Regions from separate parts of the Homo sapiens genome. Here regions 1, 3, 4, 5 and 6 are each linked to region 2. The links are contacts of gene promoters, found by promoter capture Hi-C in blood cells and fetal thymus (Javierre and others, 2016). All regions are on one chromosome and are shown on one strand. Each heading gives the region's core, a stretch centred on a gene start or on the middle of the fragment in contact. The rest is flanking DNA. Distances are from core to core; before and after follow the strand shown. Region 1 has its middle 9.6 kb from the start of ALKBH3. Region 2 holds the start of TTC17 (tetratricopeptide repeat domain 17). Region 3 has its middle 8.9 kb from the start of EXT2. Region 4 overlaps ACCSL (1-aminocyclopropane-1-carboxylate synthase homolog (inactive) like). Region 5 overlaps EXT2 (exostosin glycosyltransferase 2). Region 6 overlaps ALKBH3 (alkB homolog 3, alpha-ketoglutarate dependent dioxygenase).

Evidence for each region. Contacts are between HindIII fragments. The CHiCAGO score rates a contact against its expected background, and 5 or more counts as called.
Region 1: a fragment that was not itself captured here is called in contact with the fragment with the promoter of TTC17 in region 2 in 10 of 17 cell types (monocytes, non-activated CD4 T cells, naive CD4 T cells and 7 more); the score reaches 11.5 in monocytes.
Region 3: a fragment that was not itself captured here is called in contact with the fragment with the promoter of TTC17 in region 2 in 1 of 17 cell types (monocytes); the score reaches 5.5 in monocytes.
Region 4: a contact is called between a fragment that was not itself captured here and the fragment with the promoter of TTC17 in region 2, in 1 of 17 cell types (monocytes). The highest score is 5.4, in monocytes.
Region 5: a contact is called between a fragment that was not itself captured here and the fragment with the promoter of TTC17 in region 2, in 1 of 17 cell types (naive CD8 T cells). The highest score is 5.7, in naive CD8 T cells.
Region 6: a contact is called between a fragment that was not itself captured here and the fragment with the promoter of TTC17 in region 2, in 8 of 17 cell types (non-activated CD4 T cells, total B cells, naive CD8 T cells and 5 more). The highest score is 10.2, in non-activated CD4 T cells.

Annotation. Positions count from the first base shown.
Region 1 is chr11:43,869,806-43,872,740 of GRCh38, forward strand. No RefSeq gene overlaps it. Among named protein-coding and RNA genes, the nearest start is that of ALKBH3, 9.6 kb to the right of the region's middle. The HindIII fragment of the contact is 5,336 bases long and covers 1-2,935 here.
Region 2 is chr11:43,357,592-43,360,452 of GRCh38, forward strand. It overlaps TTC17 (tetratricopeptide repeat domain 17), which reads left to right and starts at 1,329. Exons shown (of 24, transcript NM_018259.6): 1 at 1,329-1,522. The coding sequence starts at 1,364. RefSeq lists an enhancer at 1,188-1,457 and a silencer at 1,588-1,667. The HindIII fragment of the contact is 2,829 bases long and covers 910-2,861 here.
Region 3 is chr11:44,085,397-44,088,245 of GRCh38, forward strand. No RefSeq gene overlaps it. Among named protein-coding and RNA genes, the nearest start is that of EXT2, 8.9 kb to the right of the region's middle. The HindIII fragment of the contact is 9,778 bases long and covers 1-2,849 here.
Region 4 is chr11:44,059,102-44,062,079 of GRCh38, forward strand. It overlaps ACCSL (1-aminocyclopropane-1-carboxylate synthase homolog (inactive) like), which reads left to right. Exons shown (of 14, transcript NM_001031854.2): 14 at 737-876. The coding sequence ends at 819. Among named protein-coding and RNA genes, the nearest start is that of ACCS, 5.7 kb to the right of the region's middle. The HindIII fragment of the contact is 798 bases long and covers 1,010-1,807 here.
Region 5 is chr11:44,103,260-44,105,959 of GRCh38, forward strand. All of the region lies in intron 1 of EXT2 (exostosin glycosyltransferase 2), which reads left to right. Among named protein-coding and RNA genes, the nearest start is that of EXT2, 8.9 kb to the left of the region's middle. The HindIII fragment of the contact is 774 bases long and covers 1,064-1,837 here.
Region 6 is chr11:43,893,249-43,895,948 of GRCh38, forward strand. All of the region lies in intron 7 of ALKBH3 (alkB homolog 3, alpha-ketoglutarate dependent dioxygenase), which reads left to right. Among named protein-coding and RNA genes, the nearest start is that of ALKBH3, 14 kb to the left of the region's middle. The HindIII fragment of the contact is 1,006 bases long and covers 848-1,853 here.

The DNA.
Region 1 (2,935 bases), core at 427-2,926, 510 kb after region 2:
GAATGAATGTATGGGTGAATCTTCATAGAGTCCAACAGATGAGGAGAACTAAGTAACTTGTTTGAAGTTACCCACCAATGGAGTAGTGAAGCTGAGATCTGAACCAAGTCTCGTTTGACATCATAGTTCATAGACTCAAAATGATGCCATTCCCATGGTTCTGAGGACTCAGTAGCTCTACAGAGGAATCTGCTAAGCCATCTAGATAAAACCATCAAGAATGCTTAATAACTCAGGGGCTGCTGGATTACACTGCTACCAACTCTTCTTTTTTGAAGTCACTGAAAGACACCAGCAATGAGGTCCCAAGAAATGGTTCATGTCATTTTAGGAACAGTCCTATCTTTCCTAATTTGGCTTTCATTCTGGCATGTATTTGCAGAGAGGTGGCACGGTGGCATCATGTGGCATTGTGGTTCAGTCTTCTTTGTAAAATGGGTCTAATAATAATAATGCCTGTGTAACTGGGTTCTTAAAATTAGATCAGTGGGCCGGGCGCGGTGGCTCACGCCTGTAATCCCAGCACTTTGGGAGGCCGAGGCGAGTGGATCATGAGGTCAGGAGATCGAGACCATCCTGGCTAACAAGGTGAAACCCCGTCTCTACTAAAAATACAAAAAATTAGCCGGGCGCGGTGGCGGGCGCCTGTAGTCCCAGCTACTCGGGAGGCTGAGGCAGGAGAATGGCGTGAACCCGGGAAGCGGAGCTTGCAGTGAGCCGAGATTGCGCCACTGCAGTCCGCAGTCCGGCCTGGGCGACAGAGCGAGACTCCGTCTCAAAAAAAAAAAAAAAAAAAAAAAAAAAAAAAAAAAAATTAGATCAGTGTAGGCATGTAAGTGATTGGAACAGCACTTGGCATGTAAGAAGTGCTCATGAAATGTTAACTAATGTTATTATTTGCTATTATTTAGAAATAAGAATGTGTAAATGTTGCCTACTCCTTTTAGGGATAATGTAACTATCAGAATATCTTCAAGCTGTCTGAATGCTACATAATTTAAAACCTTGACATAATTCCCTATACTCCATAGTGACTTTGCTAATGACTATAACCTCTAGTGATCTCTTGTTCCCCAAATTTTTGTCTGCCCTCCATAATTTCACATCCAATTACACTGTTTTTTAATTGTATCTCACACAGTTTACCCTGTGGTTCACTGGATGGAGATTTTACCTCCTGCAGCATCTACAATCGTGCTGGGCATTGAACAGAAGGTGTTCCTGTCTGGAGTCTGGGGAAATGTCCTCTACCCTTCAATGTTGTTGAAAGTTGGCAGAGAGCTGAAAGCCTCATAGCAAACATGCTGCAGGGTTGGCAGATTCCCTTCCCACCCTCCTTGCTCAAGCTGGGAGCTGCTAAACCTTTGGCAGTGAGACATAGGCTGGGAATTTCTCTATGCAACACCTTCACTGAGAGCTATTAGCATGATGTGCCATTATTTTCCTTGGGTTGGATTTTCTCAGGAATACAGCAGCAGGCACTCCACAAGCTGCACATGATTGAAACAGGGAACGCTTGGCAAGAGAGTGGTGTGAAAATCGGCAACTGAAAATAGGCTACAGGGTGTAGCTCACTCAGAATCACTGTTAAGAGCTACCAGCACTTAAAGCATCTATCAGCTTTGCCATCCAGGGTATGAGATAACTGTTGAGTGGGAAGTGATCACCTCTGGAAAACAGACATAGGGAAAGGATACAGAATATGGTGCAGGTACCTGCAAAATGGAACAGAGCATTGTTAAAAATGCAAATTACTGCCAGGTGCGGGTGGCTCACGCCTGTAATCCTAACATTTTGGGAGGCTGAGGCGGGCAGATCACCTGAGGTCAGGAGTTCAAGACACAGTGAAACCCTGTCTCTACTAAAGTACAAAAAATTAGCCAGGTGTGGCAGCCAGGAGGCTGAGGCAGGAGAATTGCTTGAACCCAGGAGGCGGAGGTTGCAGTGAGCCAAGACCATGCCACTGCACTCCAGCCTGGGCGACGAAGCGAGACTATGTTTCAAAAAAAAAAAAAAAAATGCACATTGCTGGGCCCTGCCCCAGACCTACTAACTGAGAATCCTGATGGGCTCCCAGAATGTGCATTTTTACAGCATCCCCTAGTGATTCTCATGCAGTTACCCTTCCAACCACATGCTGAGAAATGCTGGCTTCAAAGTAGCAAAGCAACCAGCAACATCTACTTTAGGAAGGCAGTCTTGGATGAGGACAAACTAGGAGGAGCAAGCAATACGTAAGTGATGGGCTAGGAGAGCAAGGACCCAACTCAGAGGCAAATCAGTGATGTACAGAGGCCAACCCGGGGCCCAGGCAGTTAGCCTTTGCTTTCAACTCCTGATGCCACATTCCCACTGCAACCATCAGGACTCAATCAGGAGACAGAAGCTACATAATCATCTGGACAGGAAAGAAATAGGTCGGGCGCGGTGGCTCACGCCTATAATCCTAGCACCATGAGAGGCCGAGGCGGGTGGATCACTTGAGGTCAGGAATTCAAGACCAGCCTGGCCAACATAGCAAAATCCTGTCTCTACTAAAAATAAAAGAAAAAATTAGCTGGGCGTGGTGGTGCACATCTGTAATCCCAGCTACTCGGAGGGCTGAGGCAGGAGAATCACTTGAACCCAAGTGATGGAGGTTGCAGTGAGCTGAGATTGCACCACCACACTCCAGCCTGCCAGCCTGGGTAAAAGAGCGAGACTCTGTTGAAAAGAAAAGAAGAACAGAAAAGAAAAGAAGAAAAGAAAGAAAGAATTATTAACCATAATAGAGGGTTACTGACAAAGGGAAAAAGAGAACTCTAAGAACACAAGCGTAAGCCAAAAAGTATCCGAAACAGGTCTCCATCAATTTAGAGGTTTATTTTTGCCAAGGTTAAGAACACATCTGGAAGAAAAGAACATGGAATAACAGAAAGTCTGTGGTCTGTGCCTT
Region 2 (2,861 bases), core at 79-2,578:
ATCCTGTATTTTAATTGTTAACCTGCCAATAATATCTCACTATATTGCACACTGCCCAATGGTTACATTTCCATACCCAGAGACTATCAGAGTACCAGGCAAAAAGCAAATAAGCCATATATTTTTAATGAAATGAATGTTCAGTCTTCAGGCCTTTAAGAAAAGCTGTTCCTGGAATGAAGAAAAAAAAAACACCAATGCTGTGGTTGTTTCTACATTTCTATAGCGTGGTGTTTAAACACTTAGCAACTGCTCTCCTGCATACACTTGTGTAGAGAAGTGGTTAAACAATATTCTCATCCTTCTTTTCCCAAGGAGAAAACCAAAAGCATACCAACCTTAAATAACACACACAGAGGGCAATCTTGAAAGACCTAAAATGACATATCTAGCAAGAAGCTGGCAGCCAAGCTTGACGCCTGCCTGCCTGCCTGTTGGTTCACTAGAAGAAAGTGGTTCTCAAACTTTAATATGTATACCAGTCACCTGAGGCTATTGTTAAAATGTAGTCTGATTCAGCAGGTTGCGGGGGAGAGGGAGAAGAGCCGAGAATGTGCAGGTCTAAAAAGCTCCCAGGTGATGCCAATGTTTCTGGTCTCCAGACCTAGACCTCTAGCTTAGACCTGTGCTGACCAGTACGTTAGCCACATGCGGGTATTAAGCCCCTGAAATATGACTAGATAAGCTGTCAGTGTAACATGCCGATTTCCAAGACTTAGTTAAAAAAAAAAAAACTAAACTATCTCAATGATTTGTACAGACCACATTGAATTAATATTTTGTGTACTTTGAGTTAAATAAAATGTACTAGTAGGGTTACTTCCCTCTATATTTTACATTCCACACGTGGCTCGCATTATAGTGCTACTGGACAGCGGTGCCCTAAACTAACAACCGTCTCCATTCTGAAGCTTCCACTATTGTGAGACTTTAAGAATAAAAGCAACACCTCTCTTCCCATAGGTGGTTCGAAAGCACACCTTTTGTTCCCCAACTATCTACCAGAAATAAAACGAAAAAACAAAGATTTAAAAAACAATAAAATTGAGTCCTTTCACTTCTGCTTAAGCGCCACCTAAGCCACTGCTTTTGTCTCCCTCCGGTTCCCACGCTCCGAGATCGTATCACCCACAGAAAAACAATAACTAAAAAGCGGTCTCCATCCCTGAAGCCAAGCTGGGAGAGTAGCCGAAGGTCGCGCTTCCTGGCCGCCAAAACCGAGGTGGAGGAAACTTGGTAGTCAGCGAGCTACGCCCTCTCGGCTCCTCCTCCTGCTCCTCCTCCAGGGCCGACCTCTTCAAGATGGCGGGCGCCGGAGACTAGCTTCCGCTTCCGGTGTGAGCGGCCCGGCCGGGGGGGCAAGATGGCGGCGGCAGTAGGGGTTCGTGGCCGGTACGAGCTGCCGCCTTGCTCCGGCCCAGGCTGGCTCCTCAGCCTTTCCGCCTTGCTGAGTGTGGCGGCACGAGGGGCCTTCGCCACCACGCACTGGGTCGTCACGGAGGACGGGAAAATCCAGCAGCAGGTAGCGGCCGGGGCGTCCCTCTTCTCCCGTGCCCGCCCTCGCCCCGGGGGGATTACCCTGCTTGGCCCCTGGCTGTTGGGCTCCGCGCGGCCCCGCCCCCAGCCTACCCTCACAGGGAGGTGGCACCGCGACCTCGGACTCCCTGCATTCGGACCAGGCAGGCACTTCCCGCTCCCCACTTGTCTCCTGGTCCTCGTTTGGCCCCCTAGAAGTTCTCACCCTTCCACCTCGCGGGCCGCGCGCCGCGTGGGGAAGAGTCGCCCAGCTGCGGGAGACGGGCCCTACGGACCTTTTTTTAGCTCGGGGTTTAGAAATCACAGATTTCAGGATTCCTGCCTTTGGTGCCTCTCGGGTTCACGCGTCACCGGCCCTCCCCGAGGAAATAGAAAGCAGGTGGCAGCTCCAGGGTGTGCGCGAGTCCCATGGTATGACAGCTTCTGGACCCCTAGCCTGTGGACCATTCGTGCTGCTCCCCTAGTCTCGTCTACCACATGGTGGATTTCGTTTCTGGTTGTGTTGGTTTCAGCTTGTACCGTTACTCAGGTCAGCAGTGGCTCATTAGAAACAACATAGAAACACTCCCCTTCAGAAGGAATGCTTGAAGATGCCGCTGGTGGCGTTGCCTGCATCTTTTCAGCTGTTACTGCCCTCGTTTCCCAGTGCACTTTGCTTTGTTTCTTTACCTAGTTCTTGTGACCCAGCCTCGCATGGAGGATATGCGATTTCCTGGATTCTTGTATGCCTGAACTAATTCCTCAGAGGCGAGACTGCTTTTCTTATATAACTTTATGATTGCCTGCGTTTTGTAAATGCTGCTGATGCCTAACGAGTGCGTGTGTGTGTTCCGCTACAGAATATTGGTAAACTTACTGACTTCGAACACTTGAGGACAATCTTGAAGTGTCTAGCAAACATTTAGAAAGTGAATTGTGTGCCCCATGCAATTTAGCCCACTGATCTAAAACGTTTTAACTAGTGTGGTGGGAAATTACTGGTCCTTTGGATTGTGTGTAATGAATCATGATAGGAACACATTCCAACGTTTAAGGTGAGGTTTAGATTTAGATTTGCCGTGTAATGTAATTGCAAATTCTATCTCAAGTAAGTTAAGTATAACTAAAAATCCGCCTAGGTATTCATGAGTGGTTTTCAGCATATCTAAGAAAAGACCGTGTTCCTATTGGGTAACGTTTTCTATATGACATACATAAAGAACAGTTTCCTTTTCATTGCCATACTATCTGAGACTTTAAATATATGTGTATGTGTTTCAGAAACCCAAGAAAACACTGTAAGACCATATGTGAGTGCTGGTTGCTTCCACCCTTCTTTTGTTTCT
Region 3 (2,849 bases), core at 101-2,600, 730 kb after region 2:
ATCCACCTGACTTGGCCTCCCAAAGTGCTGGGATTATGGGCATGAGCTACCTCACCTGGCCTGCTCTATTTTTGAAAGAATTTCACTGGGTGTAGGATTACAGGTTAATAGTTATTTTCTGACTTCCATTGTCCCTGTCAAGTAGTCAGCTGTCAGTCTGTGGCTTCTTCAAAGGTGATCTGTTTCCTCTGTCTCAATGCCTTTAAGACATACTCTGATCATTGATGTTATACAGTGTTACTATTATATATCTCGATGGTTTCTTTTTACTGATCTTATTTTGGGTATTGGGATTCTTGCATCTGTGGATTCTTTCAGCAGCTCTGGAAAGTTCTCATCAAATATTTCTTCTGCCTCATTCTCCCTCTTCTCTCCCTCTGGAATTCCTATTAAATGTATGATATAGATCAACTTGCTCTGTCTTCATGTCTCCTAATCTCTTTTTCATATTTTCTTTCTCATCTTTCTGTGCTACATTCAGGGTAATTTGTTTTGGTCTATTTTTCAGTTTAATAATTCTTTCTTTAGCTGGATGTAATCTGCTTTAATCTATTTGAGTTTTAAATTTAAGCAAATATATTTTTATTAGTAGAAGTTCTAAAAGTTATTCTTTATACCTCAAGTTTGTTTTTCATTTTTTAAGATGTAATAAGCATAATAATAATAATAAGTTTATTTTTTGAGACAGAGTCTCACTCTGTTGCCCAGGCTGGAATGGTGAAGTGCAGTGGCATGATCTCAGCTCAGTACAACCTCTGTCTCCCAGGTTCAAGCGATTCTCCTGCCTCAGCCTCTAAAGTAGGTAGGATTACAGGTGTGCACCACCACACCTGGCTAATTTTTGGCATTTTTAGTAGAGATGAGGTTTTGCCATGTTGGCCAGGCTGGTCTCAAACTCCTGGCCTTAAGTGGTCCACTTGCCTCAGACTCCGAAAGTGCTGGGATTACAGGCGGGAACCACGATACCCGGCCAATTATTTTTATATACCTCTATGCATCTTTCTATGTATGTATTATTGTATGTATCTATTTCCAGTATTCCAGTGTCTGAAATCTTTGCTGGTTTGTTTCTGCTATTCTGTCTCATGCCTTGATTCTTTGTGAGTTTAGTGATTTTTTATGGTGAGCTGTACATTTTTGGGGGAAATTTATTTGTTGGAATTCTTTGAAGTCTTAGATAAAGACAGATTCCTCAAGAGAGTTTTTGTGTGTTTATTTCTTCCAGGCAACTAGAGGCAATGCCAGTCTTCAAACTAAATATTTAGATTTTTTTGTTGTTGTTGTTGCCATCAGCTGCTGTGAATTTGGCCTGGAAATCTAGTCTGGCAAGAGCCAGCTTTTGGTTACAACTTCTCAGGTTAACTTCCCTCCTTTAACACCAAGGTTTGAGACAGCTTTCCTTGCAGTCTTCTGAAGAGGGAGGAAAGGATGTGAATCTGGTTTAGCCTTATTTTGTGGAGTTAGCTTTTTGGAGTCCTGGCTTTATTGGAGAAGAATTTCCTATTAGATTTCTCATCTCTGGTCAGCCTCCAGGAGATTGGGAAAATAGAAGCTCGAGATCATTGTTTTGGCAAATGCCTCAAGATGAAAGCCAGCATCATAGTTGTCACTCAGTCCCATGCCTGATCATTCCTTTGTTTTGTTCCAGCTAATGCATGTGCTCATGAAAATTGTGTTTTGTTTTGTTTTGTTTTTTGAGATGGAGTTTTGCTCTTGCTGTTCAGGCTGGAGTGCAATGGTGTAATCCTGGCTTACTGCAACCTCCGTCTCCTGGGTTCAAGTGAGTCTCCATCCTCAGCCTCCCAAGTAGCTGGGACTACAGGTGCCCGCCACCACATCCGGCTAATTTTTTTTTTTTTCAGACAGAGTCTCTCTCTGTCGCCCAGGCTGGAGTGCTGTGGCGGGATCTTGGCTCACTGCAAGCTCCACCTCCCAGGTTCATGCCATTCTCCTGCCTCAGCCCCCCGAGTAGCTGGGACTACAGGCTCCTGCCACCACACCTGGCTAATATTTTGTATTTTTTTTTAGTAGAGATGGGGTTTCACCATGTTAGCCATGATGGTCTTGATCTCCTGACCTCATGATCCACTATTTTTTTTATTTTTTTATTTTTAGTAGAGACAGGGTTTCACCATGTTGGCCAGGCTGGTCATGAACTGCTGACCTCAGATGATCCCCTTGCCTCGGCTTACCAAAGTGCTGGGAGTACAGGCTGAGCCATCACGCCTGGCCTGAACATTGTGTTTCAGCATTGTTACTTGTTTTCAGTGTATGTGGTGGGGAGAGGGGGTCTTTCTTACTGTAAATGACTATGTGGGCTTTCCTTTTGCACTCTCATTTAATCCTGACTTCATCACAAGGCAGATATTGCTGTCCTGGTTATGTTTTTAAGTAGAATTTCCATGGTGTATAGCTTTTCACTATTATGAATAATGCTGCTGTGAACATTCTTGAATATGACTTTTTGGGACACATACATACACATTTCCTTTCACTATGTACCTGCTAGATAATGGGGTAAGCTCAGCTTTAGTAAATACTGCCAGTTTCCTAATATGATTCTACCGATGTATAGAAGTGTATAAAAATTCTATTAGCTCCTCATCCTTGCCAACTTTTAGGTATTATCAGGTAAAAAAGGTATGTAGAAGTATCTCATTGTAGGCTGGGCATGGTGGCTCATGTCTGTAATCCCAGCACTTTGGGAGGCTGTGGTGAGTGGATCACCTGAGGTCAGGAGCTCGAGACCAGCCTGGCCAACATGGTGAAACCCCATCTCTATTAAAATTACAAAAATTAGCTGGGTGTGGTGGCAGGCACCTGTAATCCCAGCTACTCAGGAGGCTGAG
Region 4 (2,978 bases), core at 159-2,658, 700 kb after region 2:
CATGGTGGCGCACGCCTGTAATCCCAGCTACTCGGGGGGCTGAGGCAGGAGAATTGCTTGAACCTGGGAGGTGGAGGTTGCAGTGAGCTGAGATTGCGCCACTGCACTCCAGCCTGGGCGACAGAGTGAGACTGTTTCAAGAAAACAAAAACAAACAAACAAAACCCGAAAAAAGTAGTACTCTGCCCTTGTGGGACTGGCAGCCTAGTAAGTGAGATGGATAGGCAGATGACCATGGAAGTCCCTGTATGCCATACTAGAGAGTTTAGATTCTCCTCTGAGGTTATAGAGAATAGGACATTCATGTGAACATTTATTTATTGCATTCCACTACATGCCAGATGCTGTTCTACCTGCTGGGAATATAGCAGTGAATTGTTCATTCTCATGAAGGTTTTTGTTACAGAATTCTTTTGAGCTAGCATAGAAGATAGGCTGAGTGAAGAGACACTAGAGGCAAATAGAAATCCTGATTAGGCCAAGGCCATAAGCCCGAGAGTACAGGCTTTGATACAAGACATTGAGATGTCTCGCAGGCTGACATAACAATGATATTCAAAAAGAAATCAGGGATGCAACATGTAGACTTGGAAATCCATCCCAAAGGTGGGAGGGCTGAAGTTCAGGATCCCTGAATGAGAGGCTTTTATGGTTGACCATGACCTGGGTATGTCTGGGACCCACCAGCAAACCTACTAAATCACTATTTCTCTCTGTCCCCATTTGAACCCTCTAGCTATGCGTCGGTTCTGTGATGTGCTGCAGGAGCAGAAGGAGGCTTTGATAGTGAAGCAGTTGGAGGATGCAATGAGGGAGTAGGCCGTCTGCCTCCCAACCAGCAGTTCCAGCCCATCACTTGCTCAGGGACCCCCTAATGTCAGCCTCTGGCCCAGAAGGCCAGGGTGTCTTTTTGTCAGTGTTGCGATGGAGAAAATGGTGGGCTCCTCCAGGAAGATCTCATCTTACCCGGTTGTCACCCTCCTTAAGCTGAGTGCCTGCTGTCTTTGGAAGCTTTCCATCTTTTTAGTCTTTGCTAGCCATTATATATGCAAAATGTTTTTATCGGGGTTGGGGTGGAAAGGCCTAGAGACACCTAGAGAAATAAAGGGAGTTCTCTGGGCCCCTATTTAGATGGTTTATTTTTATATTCAGTACCTAATAAATTCTATACTTTTAAATTCTAGGCCCATCTTATTTTCTTGCTTATATTCTTCATAATCATCTTTGGAAGCCAGATGATTTTCTGTCCTCCTTAATTTTTAAATTCTAAGGCAGGTTCTATGTAAAGAATACTGTCTAGAGCAGGCCAGAAAAAGAAAGAAGTCATCCTTAACTGATGGGCCATTTTCCAGGTGTTGGATGCAATGTTCTATAAGATTCTTATGAAATCACATCCACTTCCACATGACCTGCTAAGAGGCAGGTGGGAGTATAATTGCAGGTATTCCTGCTTCCAAATACTAGAGTTTGTTCCACTTTTACCTTCCCAAAAGGCTTTTAAAGTCTCTTGCTGGGTACGGTGGCTCATGCCTGTAATCCCAGCACTTTGGGAGGCTGAGGCCAGAGAATGGCTTGAGGCCAGGTGTTTGAGACCAGCCTGAGCAACCGAGACCCTGTCTCTACAAAAAATAAAATTAGCTGGGTGTGGTGATGTGTGCCTCTAGTCCCAGCTATTCAGGAGGCTGAGGTGGGAGGCTCGCTTAAATCTAGGAGACCAAGCCTGCAGTGAACCATATCGTGCCACTGCATTCCAGCCTGGTTATAGAGTAAGACCCTGTCTCTACAAAAAAGAAAAAAAAATCTGACAAGCTTGGTGTCTTAGTCCCTTCATAATATGAAAATATCACAAAGTGGATGGCTTAGAAACAAATCTTTCTCACAGTTCTGGAGGCTGGAAAGGCCGAGTTCAAGGCCCTGGGAGATTTGGCATCTGGTGAGGGTCCCATCTTCCCAGTGTCATCTCATGTGGCAGAAGAGGTGAGAGGTCTTCCTCTGCCTTCATGACCCAATCACTTTTCAAAGGGCTCACCTTCTAATACCATCACCTTGGGGGTTAGGATTTCAAATATGAATGTTGGGGGGACACATTCAGTTCGTAGCATCTGGGGTTGTCCATTTCCATTTCTAATGTTTTCAGCTGTTCAAATTAAGCCACCCATCAGTTTCTCTGCAAAGCCCTTGCATGTCAGAGCACTGATACTGTGAAGTGGGCAGAGAAGGGACTACTACGATTTTATGGATGAAGAAAGAGCTCACAGTACCAACTGGTGGCTTTAGTCGCTTGGGTTTGTGGCCGTACTTGCTCCGAATCCAAATTTGTTTATTCTTGTCAGTTTTCTTGTGTGTGTGTGTGTATGTGTGTGTTTTTGTTGTTGTTGTTGTTGTTGTTGTGAGACTGAGTCTCACTCTGTCGCCCAGGTTGGAGTGCAGTGTCACAATCTCGGCTCACTGCAACCTCTGCTGCTGGTTCAGCGATTCTCCTGCCTCTGCCTCCCAAGCAGCTGGGACTACAGGCACGTGCCACCTCGCCCAGCTAATTTTTATATCTTTAGTAGAGACAGGGTTTTACCATGTTGGCCAGGCTTGTCTCAAACGCCTGACCTCAAGTGATCCGCCTGCCTCGGCCTCCCAAAGTGCTGGGATTACAAGCTGAGCCACCGCTCCTGACCGATATAGCTCTTTTTAAAAAACCTCTAGTATAACGTTGAATAAAAGTGGTTGAGAGGACAGCCTGCCTTGTTCTCAGTCTTAGTAGCATTGAGTGCAATCTTCTGCTCTTGAGTATAACGTTACTGTATTTTTCATTCTGTCCCTTATCTAATAAAGAGTCCTTCTATTACTAGTTTGCTGGGAGTTTTACCATGTATGAGGGTTCAATGTTGTTAGATGTTTTTCATCTGCATTTATAGAGATATGATTTTTCTCTTGATTATCAATGTAGTAAGTTACATTGATTTCTTAATGTTAAAGCAACTTCA
Region 5 (2,700 bases), core at 201-2,700, 750 kb after region 2:
ATGTTCTGTTCTGAGTTGAGCATCTTGAGTCTGTGAATTGATGTATTTTATCATTTTTGGAAAAACTTAAAAAAACACAGTTGGATTATCCCATCGGCTTCTACATTCAGTCTGTTGCAGTGTCATATGTCATGTAGCCTCTGGAAAATGGAAGTGAATAAAGCAAATGTCAGTATTAAACTAGTATAAGCCCTTTGAAAGGGCCTGGGATGCCTGAAGCATACTTCAAGAACCAGTGTTCTAAGATTTTGGTATGAAGCATTTGCTAGCCTCCTAAACTGAGCTTTGAAGTGTTTCCTCTTTTTTTTCTGAACTCTGGAATAATTTGTGGAAAATTGGAATTATTATTTCTTGAATATTTGGTAGAACTTGGAAAATTTTCTGGGCCTGGAATTTTCTTTATAGGAAGATTTTTAAACTTTTGATTCAGTGTCTTTAATGTTATAGAGCTACTCAGAGTTGCTGTTTCTCCTTGAGATGCTTTTGGTAAGTATATTTTAAAATAATTTTTCCATGTTATCTGAGTTTTCAAATGTACTGGCATAAATTCATTGATACCATCTTATCTTTTAAATATATGCAGCATTTAGAGTTATGTTCCCCTTTTCAGGTATTTATTTGCACCTTTTTCCTTGAATTCTTGATTAATCTTACCAGAATTTTATTAGTCTGTTTTTAAACAAACAACTTTTAGCCTTGTTGACCATTTCTATTTTGTTTTTTAATTAATCTCTGTGCTTTTATTTATTATTTTCTTCTGTTATCTTTGGTTTTACTTTGTTGTGATATGTCTTTTTTATAGTTAATCTGCAACTCATAAAGATTTGTGAAGCTCATGTGTGAATACAGTTTTTGTTCCCTTAACCTCAATTTTGTCATACATAGAAGCTATTTTTCAAGCTATGGAGGACCCATTATTGGGTGGTATAATTGATCTAGTAGGTTATGGCCAGAATTTTTTAAAAAGCAATAGAATAACAGAGTAGAAAAATGGAGGGTTCATTGCGTGTTCTGTGGCTAACACTGTGTACTCACAGTACATAGCTTAAATGTTGTTTTTTGAAGCTTTATTTAAAATATCCATATACACACATATATATATCTGTCTATATTGGGTCACAATATAACATATATTTCTTACTGTCAATTTTAGTTTAAAAAAAGTTTTGAAAAACACTATTAAAGGGTAGTTTGTCTAATATTAATAAAGGTTTAAAACCAGATGGCACAAAATACTTGAGGAGCTTGTTTTTAAATGACATATTCTGTGGCCCTATTTTAAACTTACTGATAACAGCCTCCAGTGGTGGGGCCAAGGAATCTGTTTTAACAAACTCTTGTGCTTCTTACCCTTCAGGTGTTGGGGAACCACTGATTCAAGTATACACATAGACCTTGAGAGCTTCTTGGGAAGTTCTAACATGGGCCAGCGGAGGGCAGCTCCTTGCCTGCATTTGTCCCAAAACTTCCTGTCTTCAAACTCCAGGAGGGATATGCAGAATGGCAAGGAAGCCATACCATAGGGTGGGCCTGCAGCTGGTAGGGGATGGGAGCAGGCAGGAATATTCTGCTTACTGTTAGAATGATAGAAAAAGTGAAATCGCTGTCATGCCACATTTCTGTCATAGAACAATTAGAATATATTGAGTGACTGATGTATATACTCCAAAGATGATAATCTTTTAAGCTCAAAATGTATGAATTTTCATGTATTAGTCAATGATAGGCAAATTCCTTGTTATGTTCCAGTTTCTGGTCTTAGAGAGATATGACTTGAAATGATTCATGACCATTTAGCATATTTTACCCCCAAAACTGAAAGTGATTGCAACATTCAAGCTTGGCAATACTCAGCTCGCTAGGCAGGAAGCAGTTTACCATGTGGGCACTGATGGGGAGAGCTCCATTTATCCGAAGCAAAAATGGTTGATAACTCTAAGATGGTCTATGAGCTTTTCAGTTACTTCCCATTATATTAATAGCTTTCCTGGAAGATCCGTGAGTAGAATGATACCATTTTGTTTATTTATTTTTATTTTATTTTATTTTTTGAGAAAGAGTCGTGCTCTATTGCCCAGGCTGGAGTGCAGTGGCACAATCTTGGTTCACTGCACCTCCGCCTCCCAGGTTTAAGTGACTGTCTTGCCTCAGCCTCCCAAGTAGCTGGGATTACAGGTGTCTGCCATCATGCCTGGCTAATTTTTGTATTTTTAGTAGAGACAGGGTTTCACCATGTTGGCTAGGCTGGTCTTGAACTCCTGATCTCAGGTGATCTGTCTGCCTTGGCCTCCCAAAGTGCTGGGATTATAGGCATGAGCCACTGTGCCCAGCTGTCTTTTTGTGGATTGGTATTTTGACATGCAGGATGCCAAAATAGCTTGTTGCAGTAACATGGTAAGTATGTGGCAGATGATGCAGCCACACTCAAGGCTCTGCCCTCCCCCGAAACAGTATCCGGGAATCATATAGGAGAGGCTTGTTTGGTAAGGATCTTAAAATGTGGTCTACATGGGAACTCTACATTTTTAGCTGAGGACTACAAATTTTCTTTACATCTCAGTCAATAATGCTTATTGGCTGTTTTATATATCTATAGCTGTATAACAAACCACCCCAAAACTTAGAAGCTTTAAACAACAACAGTCATTTATTTGCTGATGATTGTGGAATCTATGCAGAGCTTGGTGGGGATGGCTCATC
Region 6 (2,700 bases), core at 101-2,600, 540 kb after region 2:
CATTGTAGGATGTTTACCAGTATGCATGACCTCCACCTGTTAGATGTCAGTGGCACCCCTCACCCAGCTGTGACAACCAAAACCAACTCAAGACATTGTTAAACATCTGGGGGGGCAAAATTGCCCCTGGTTAAGAACCAGTGGGAATAAACACAGGATCTGCTGAGTAAAGTAGCCTCTTATTGTCCGACATTTTGGGAACATTTTGACAACTCTTCAAAATAATTTATGACAATCCTTTTTTTTAAATGTTGGTAGTATGTGCTTATTGAAAATTTAGAAACTGCACATAAACAGGAAGAATATTAAAATTCTTGATAATTCTACCCCATGTTTTGGTTCCAATCTTGTTATTTTAGACAAATATACCTAGAGAATCTTTTTTTCTGTAACAATAAAATAGTCCAGGTGTGGTGGCTCATGTCTATAATCCCAACACTTTGGGAGGTCAAGGTGGAAGGATTGCTTGAGGCCAGGAGTTCATAACCAGCCTGGACAACATAATGTGGTCAAATTAGAATTCTTTAATTCAGATTTGGCTGGCTCATAACTTTGCCTTTATTGGTGATATATTTAGTTCATTTATATACTGTCTTGAACAAAAAAGAGCTACCCTTTCTCAGATTTTTATTTATGTTCATTTTAAATTTAGATATAGGGTCTTGTTATGTTGCCCAGGCTGGTGTTGAACACCTGGGCTCAAGTGCTCCTCCTGCCTCAGCTTCCTTTAATAGTTGTGATTATCGGCCACACCCCGACCTCTCAGAATTTTTTAAAGGTGGATTCACTAATGTATGTATATATATGTTGGGAGTACTTGTTTAGTTTAAAAATTGTCATTACCTGAAGCTTAATATCCCGTACAAAATAAGCAATTTCAGTCATGGGTTTTTAAACTTGTTTTAGTTTTTGTTCAAACTAAATCTCACATGAGCCCAGTGTATAAAACAGATCAGAGCCTTGACTGGCTGGGAGTCCCACCAACTTGACCTCTCCTTTCTTCTCCTGTAGACCCAGAGGTACCTCTGAGGTACCTAGAACTCTATACAACACTGTTTGAAATCCACTGAATAGGTCCTTTCACTTCTGTGATTCATATTTTTTGTATTCTTTTCCTAAAATGTCTTTTAAGGATAAAATGTCTTCACTGAACAGTGAGATAATGCTGAATTTTAATTTAGACATTCAGTTCTGAGGCATCTGAATATAGAGTATTGGTTGGAGAGTCTAAATTAATCCTCTAGTTCATTATCCCCTTTTTTCTTCCTTTTCTCACTGTTTCAGTACCAAAAATAACCCAGAAAAAAAATACCTACTTAGAAACATAACACAAACTTTATGCTATCTCAGTATTCAGTCCCTGAGCAAGTCAGGGAAGTGCTAATTAGATTCCCAGTAACATTGGAGAAAAAAGCCCATCTTCCTCCTTTACATTCTTGTTTTTCTTGTTAAGCGTGTAATTCTAGCATCTGATCTTTATCGCTATGAAGATAAATTTAAAGCTGTAAAGTAAATAGGAAATACAGCCTGCTGACATTATTATTGGAATTTCACTTTGGAATTTATTCTCTTGAACAAAGGTTTATTTAATATTTTTGTTTTATGAGTGTGGATCTCATGTTATGTGTTTTTCTACCACAATAAAAAAGGAGAACAAGAGATAAAGAAACTTCCAACTTCTGGAGGCTTCTTGAGTCTCCCCAGGTGTCCCATTAGCCAACTATTTGTTGTTTTTGCTGTTTATTTTTTAAAATCCTCTGCTTAGAATATAATATTATAATGTAGTATCCACAACAAGGAATTCCATCTTTAACCATGGTTTTCACATCAGAGTAAAGCTGAGTGATTATGTAAGCTTCCCTGGCAGTTTTACCTGACAACCATGGGATATACTTAATAATAGTAACAATAATATTCCTTCCTTTGCTGAACGTCTGTTTCTTCACTGCGAAACATATAACATGATATGGTTTGGCTGTGTCCCCACGCAAGTCTCACCTTGAATTGTAATAATCCCCGTGTATCAAGGGCAGGGCCAGGTGGAGATAATTGAATCATGGGGGCATTTTCCCCCTTACTGTTCTCATGGTAGTGAATAAGTCTCATGAGATCTGATGGTTTTATAAATGGGAGTTCCCTGCACATGCGCTCTTGCCTGCTGCCATGTAAGATGTGACTTTGCTCCTCCTTTGTCTTCTGCCTTGATTGTGAGGCCTCCGCAGCTATGTGGAACTGTCAGTCCATTGAACCTCTTTTTGTTGGTAAATTACCCAGTCTTGGGTATGTCTTTATTAGCAGCATGAGAACAGACTAATGCAATAGACATTCAAGGAGTTCCCTAAAGTAACAGTTCTTAGAGTATAATCTGTAGATCCCTGGAGAGGGTTCATGAAACCTTTTTTGGGAATCTACAAGTAAAACTATTTTCATAATAATACTAAGTCTGTATGGTATTTTCACTGTGTTGGGTTTGCACTGATGGTAATGGTGGATAAAGCTGCCAGCACCTTAGCATGAATCAAGCCATTGTCACCAAACTCTGCTAGTAGTCATTGTGTTCGTCATCATCATGCGCTTCCAGTGTAAACTTTAAAAAATGCCAGTTTCATTTAAGAATGTCTATTGATGAAGTAGTAAACATTATTCATTTTATTAAATCTTGGTCTTTGAGTATGTGTCTTCCCAATAGTCTTCTTAATG